2 separate regions of the Homo sapiens genome follow, and region 2 is linked to region 1. The links are contacts of gene promoters, found by promoter capture Hi-C in human tissues and cell types (Jung and others, 2019). All regions are on one chromosome and are shown on one strand. The core of a region is centred on a gene start or on the middle of the fragment in contact, and the rest is flanking DNA. Distances in the headings are between cores, read along the strand shown.

Region 1 (3,206 bases), core at 490-2,989:
GTCTTAAACCTTGCATGGAGATAGCCGAAAAATGTTCACAATTGAACTGTGACCAGCTGCCTGGTCTATCTGCAGCAGTGGTTCTAGAAACCTAGGAAGGGGTGTTCCAGGGGTGGGAATCTGGTGAGAGGAGGGAAATATCCTGAGGATAGGTCTTTGAGCTGGGTTTGCAGGGTAAATACACCACTTTATTCAGATGACTTGCCTTCTTTGGTGGGGAGGGTACTGATGGACTGTTATGGAAAGGTAGAGCCCCCACCCCCACTCCCTGCAACCCAGGTCTTGCATCTGCCACCGGCCAACCCAAAGAACATCCGATTGTCCTGCTCACACCTCTCCCAGGCACCCCAGCTTCCATGCCAAACAAAGGATGCCTGCAGGATCCTGTCAGGGCGTCCTTCTTCCTGTTTTGGGGATTATTATTTTTTGATTGATTGACTCCTTTATTCATTCAACAAATATTTTATCAAGTGTATGCTTAAGGAAGCAGCGACGAGAAAGACATTTACATAAGGCAGCTGCCCTCAAGGAGTTACAATATTTATTCCATGTGTGTCCTGAAATATTCAGGCCCCAAACACAACTTTTTTTTTTTTAACCTAAGTGCTTTTAAAGACTTCTTTGAAATGTGGGACAATTATGCAAGCTGAAAAAAAAAAGTATCTAGAGCAAATATTTAACTTTGCCTTTGGTATGTTGAAGTCACCAGCCCATGCAAACCTCTCAGGCATGTCCTGTAAGATAGACTGACTTACACACACACACACACACACACTCACTCTATGTAGGGGGCACAGTTAGGGGTTTGCATAATGCCGGGCTCCAGGGTTCTGGAGACAGTTCTACTCCACAGCTTGGACTCTGATCCCCACCCACACCTTCCAGAATACTGGAAAACTCAGAACACAGAGACCTCAAGAGCTTACTCAGAAACACGCAGCTCGTACTGGGGGAGACTCCCAGTGAATGATTAAGGCCTTGAGAAAATCTATCAGCCGATGGCTCACACGGCGGCCACAGCTCCAAGCTCAGGACCCGCCCCTTTGGGCTTCCGCAAACCTAGCAATCCGGAGTCCTGGATAATAACAGGATTCCTGGAGTCTCCGGAGGGTGCCTTTGGCCTCTGGGATTCACCCGAGCCGTTGGCTTTTGCTCCCCCCACCCCACCCCCTGGCTTTTCTTGGCTTGGAGGGCAGCTGGCGGAGATACCGTTGTGCACCCCTGGGCGGAAGGCGCCCCAGAACTGGTGGCCTGGGCAGCAGACGCCGGCGTATCACCCGGGTACAAAGTTTTCGTTTGCTCTGCAAACGTTTTGATGTGCAGGCAGCCTCTATTTCCAAATCCTATTATTATAAATACTCTGTGGCGGGAGCCAGCTGCGTTCGGGATAACCGTGCAGACCGAACCGGACTTTACAAAAATCAGGGACTTTCTCGTCCGCCGGCTTTGGCCAGGGAGGGGGAGGTCCGTGAGCCACGCAGCCCGGGGCGGGGCAGAGGCGGCCAGGGCGCCCCGCGGTCTCCCGGGGTTGCCACAACAGACCCCACGCGCACGCCCGAGCCGCAGCCGCGGGCGGGAGCGGGGTCGGGGCGGGGGACTGAGGTCCGCGGCGTGGGCGGGGGTGGGGGTCCAGGTCGGGTCGCCCGCGGGTCCTGGGCCGCACGCGTCCTTTCGGCGGCGAGAGGGCCCCTCCCCCACCCTCGCCGGAGCCAGCTCCCGCGCCGGGCGGGGCCGGGTCCTTCCCCACCCCCTGCACCTGAGCCGCGGCGGCGGCTCCTGAGCTCCGGCGGGGCTGGGCGCGGCGCCGCTCGGGTTCCCGCGGCCGATCCAGGTGTGCGCGGACGCTGGCGCTCCCGGGGGGCTCGGACCCGCCCCCGACTCGCCGAGCCAGGTGAGGCGGCGGCCGGGGACGCAGGGCGCGGGCCGGGGAGGACGGGAGGTGGCCCTTGGGCACCCGATCCTGCTCACTGACGGCATTTTGGGGGCATCTCGATTCCGGGAGCACCAACTACCGGGTAAGCGCAGTCCTGGACCCAGAGAGGCTGGAGAGGTGGGCGCTGGGGGGAGTGAGCCGCGTGTCCAGGTGGGGGTCGATTTTCCGTAGAGAGCCCTTCCCCCTGCATGCCTTTCTTCCCGGGCAGGGGCCGGTGTCGAAAGCTTTGGAAGCGGCGTGGGGGCAGAGCGCAGGAAGGAGCCCCCGCTTTATCTCCTGCGCGCATGGACCACGTAGTCTCTGGCGCGTCCTGCCCCTTCCTCTGGAACAGCGCGTGTGGCGCGACCTCCCCCGCTCTCCCGGGGTCTCCTTGCCCCGGGTCACCGCCCGCCAGCCCTAGGACCCGGGCCAGCGAGCCCAGCGGAGGAGCCGGCGCGGGGCCGCCAGGTGGCGCGCGGGGGCGGAGACCCGAACCGTGGCCGCCAGGTCCCCCGAGACCCCGCTGCGGTCACCCTGGCCCTGCACGCAGAGCTCCCATCCAGGCGCGCGCGGCGGCAGCAGCAGCTGTCGCGGAGAGGCCGGGGCCGGCGCGCCTGGTGCGGGCCCGGGGGTGGCGGGTCGGGCGCCCAGGTCCCGGGGGTCGCGCTGAGCCACAGCCGGGTGCCCGACCCCGGCCCGCCGTGCTCACCAGCTGGGATAGGGAGACCCGGCGGGCGCAGCCCGGCCGCCACCGTCCGTGAATTATGCAGGAAGCTGGCACCGGCGCGCTCGAGTTGATCAAGTTTCCCTGGCAACTTTCGCCCGGGCATCCCTCCTCCCCGGCGGCCGGGCAGCTCCGCCCGCCCAGCCCGCGGCCCAGGCGCCTCCACCGGGTGGCCCCGGCCCCGGGCGCCAGGCGCGGGGACCGCTCCCAGAGACGCCGACAGCGCACTCGTCACTTGGGCTGGAGCCGCCGGACTGAGCCAGCAGGTGCGACCACCGCAGCGGGCCTCGCCGCCCGGGTTCGGGGGGATGCGGGGGCTGGGGTGGACCTCGCCGCCAGGGTTCTGGGGCTTGGCGTGGGGGTGCAGCGCGGCGCCCTCCAGGCGGGTCTGCGTGCGGACACCCTGCTCGAGGTGGGTGGGCGCGTGGGCGAGGCTTGCCTTTCCGTGGGGCTGGAGCACCCAGAGGGAGAAAGGGTGGTGCAGGTGACCGTGGGTTTTCGCAGCCGATCTTTTAAAGGGGCTCGGGGCGCCTGGAACTGAGAAGGCGCTCGAGCCAGGCAGGTGAGGGG
Region 2 (3,136 bases), core at 56-2,555, 51 kb after region 1:
ACACACAGTGTTTTCCATATCTCAATTTACTTCTTATTTTGCTGCTCCACAGAAAATTTGGAAAACAGAGAAAAAGGGTCAAAGTCACCCAGCCCCAGTGCCAACTATCCTGGTGGCATCTGGCTCCGTTTTTTCCAAGGCAGTTTCCCATGGCTTTGACCCTGGGTCAGTGCCGTGCTCATTGTTGCCCCTTGCATGCTCATTGACTTAACCAGGGCAGGTGACTTTGGCACAGCAGGCAGTGGAGCCGGCCAGGTGGATGGAGACAGCCTTGCTGTGCCCTTTGGGTGGGACCTGGTCAGGAATCCCACATGGACAAGAGGATTGTCCATGGTGTGCTCTGACTGGCCTATGACTCAGAGACTTCCCAAAGGTCACCTTTAGTGACTCTGTGTGCTGGCTGCTTTCCCGGTGGGTCATTCTGGCCAACATCGACCCCTTTTGACACCTGGGCAGAGCCACCTGGAAGCCAGCTCCTGAGGAGGGGTAGCCTGAGATGTGGGTATGATGTTGAGTGTGGAGTTGGAAGACCTGGGTCCTAGCTCTGCCTTGTCTCGCCGAGGGGCTGGGAGTACCCTCACCTCTCTGACCTCAGTCTATGGATCTCTGAAATGGGTTCAGTCACCTGCCCACCCGCCAGGTAGGCTGTTCTTAAGGTACAAGGACCTGAGCTGCAGAGAGTGGCTGGTTGTGTGCCCTCTGTGCTGCTGTGCACATTCTGAGATGTGGTTCCATGACCTGTCTAGGCCCTGAGGGGAGGAATGAGGAGGGGATGGGGCTGGGGAACCAGTGGCCTCTGAGGTGAGTTCCTGATCTGGGCTGCCACCCGGCAGAAGGGTGTGTCCACCAGGCCCATGCAGATGCCTTAAAGGCAGGGAGTTGTTTGTGCACCTTGCACCCTCATCATCAAGCAGCCATTCATTCACTTGGCACACAGTGATTAAGCACCTACTGTGTACCCGTGAGCCATGTGGGCACACCCCTCCTCCACACAGCTGTGAAGAATCAGAGAATCAGATAAACCAGGACTTGTCCAAATAACAATAATTGGTCGGTATCCTGTAGAACAGGGGACCCTAATCCATTTGGAGGGCTCATGGCTGTGCCTTTGAAATTTGGCAATGACAGAAGCCACTGGGCAGGTTCCGGGAGGCAGGTTTGTTCCTCGGGTCAGGGCGACTGGAGGAACTGGAGTAGGTGCCTCATCCCTGCCTCCTTCCCACAGATTCATCCCCCGTCTCCTGGTGGGAGACAACGTGCTCCTTCTGGACTTCAAAGCCAGCCCCACTACCCTCGGAGTCTGTGTGCTGGGCGTGGACAAGTCTCTGCTTTGTACCCACTCTGTGGCCGTGAACCTGTGACCTATACTTCTCAGCCTTGCTTTTCTTATCTGTAAAATGGGAATAGTCACTGGATTTATCTTAAAGCTGAGGTCACTGGTGTCTGGGCTTGAAAGAGAACCGGCTCATAGGGACCCTCACTCACGAGCCCCTGCTGTGCAGGTGACCGCCATCAGTGACCGCCGTCTGTGGCCAAGTGAGTAGCAGCAGCAGCAGCTCCGACCATCATGGCATTGGAGTGCAGTGGACACAGCGTGGTGATCACCCTTTGTGGCACACGCCAGCTCGGCGCAATCTCCGGGCGGGCAGCGGTGGGCAGCACAGCTCTCCTGAGGCGTGGAAAGACGTGCTTGTCCTCGGGATCACAACGGATCCCATATATCCATGAGACAAGAGGTGCTTCTCGTGGCCGAGACCTCTCTCTTTGCAGTGCCTCAGATTTCCACCGCTTTGTCAAGTTGGAATATGGGGGAGGGCACGTGGTTGCTGTGGAGAAGGAACAGTTGAGGGAAATGAATGCATGTCATCTGCAGGAGCTCCTCATGGCCTAATTGGAAGATTAATTTTCCATCTTGGGAGGAATTTTTGGGCACTGCTAATTGTCTTAAACCATCACTGTCGTGTCTGTCTCTTTGATGGCTCGGGGGAGGTCGGTGTGGGGGCTTTATGTTGTTTACTGATGCATCCTCGGGGCCCGTGGCAGGCCCTGCCACATTGCAGGTGCCCAATATTGGTTGAATGCACCACTGAACAAAGCTTTGAGCACATACCTTTATTTACACATAGGGTTTTCCCCATATGACAGTCACTAAAATAAAGATCTGAAGTGTGTGTGTGTGTGTGTGTGTGTGTGTGTGTGTATTAATTGAGACTTGATACCTCTCTGTGGTCTGGTGACTGAGGACAAACACATCTGACCATGGTGTGAAGCTCCTGACTGAGCATGCAGATAAAGGCTTGAAGACAAAATGACAGCAGTGGGAAGAGAATTACTGTCTGAGCCATACCCATGGTATTGGTTAACATGTGGCTGCCGCTGAGGAAGACGGCCTGGCAAGTCCTAAAAAAAGTTAAATGTAGAGTGAAGTTAAATGTAGAGTTATGTTAAATGTAGAGTGAAGTCAAATGTAGAGTGAAGTCAAATGTAGAGTGAAGTCAAATGTAGAGTGAAGTTAAACGTGGAGTTAGCACATGAGCCAGCAGTTCCACTCCTGGGTGTGTCCCCAAGAGAAATGGAATCATAGGTACGAGTGAAAATGTTTACATACATGCTCATGGCAGCGTTATTTATAATAGCCCAAAACTGGAATCAGTCAGATGTCTGTCAGCTGAGTAATAAATAAACAGTGTGGTGTACCCATGTGATGGGATGTGACTTGGCCTGAAAAGGAATGGATTACGGATGAGGACTACTGCATAGATACACCTTGAGGACATTACGTGTGGTGAAAGGAGCCAGACACAGAGGCCACGTATGATGTGACTCCATTTATCCGCATTGTCCAGATTGGTCAAATCCACAGAGGCAGAAAATAGACTAGCAGTTGCCAGAGGCTGGGAGGTGGCTGCTAATGGGTTTAGGGTTTCCATGTGGGGTGCTGAGAATGTCCTGACGTTAGATAGTGGTGATGGTTACACAACATGGCTAAAAACCATTAAATACTTTAAAGTGGTAAATTCTATGTTATGTGAATTTTATCTGTCTAAAAAATTGCTAAGGAAACAAATGCCCTAAAAGACAAAACCATGTCCGCCTTTGAGAGATTAATCTATTTGGAAATGAAGCTTCATTCTCT

The links. The method cuts DNA at HindIII sites, captures the fragments that hold promoters and counts their contacts. A contact is called where the count stands out against the background at its distance.
Region 2: a contact is called between a fragment that was not itself captured here and the fragment with the promoter of SHANK2 in region 1, in 2 of the 25 tissues and cell types used here (liver and stomach).

What each region holds. Positions count from the first base shown.
Region 1 is chr11:71,251,110-71,254,315 of GRCh38, reverse strand. SHANK2 (SH3 and multiple ankyrin repeat domains 2) reads left to right here and starts at 1,739. Exons shown (of 26, transcript NM_012309.5): 1 at 1,739-1,891. The HindIII fragment of the contact is 4,011 bases long and covers 1-2,784 here.
Region 2 is chr11:71,199,896-71,203,031 of GRCh38, reverse strand. All of the region lies in intron 2 of SHANK2 (SH3 and multiple ankyrin repeat domains 2), which reads left to right. Among named protein-coding and RNA genes, the nearest start is that of SHANK2, 51 kb to the left of the region's middle. RefSeq lists an enhancer at 2,883-3,136. The HindIII fragment of the contact is 5,516 bases long and covers 1-3,136 here.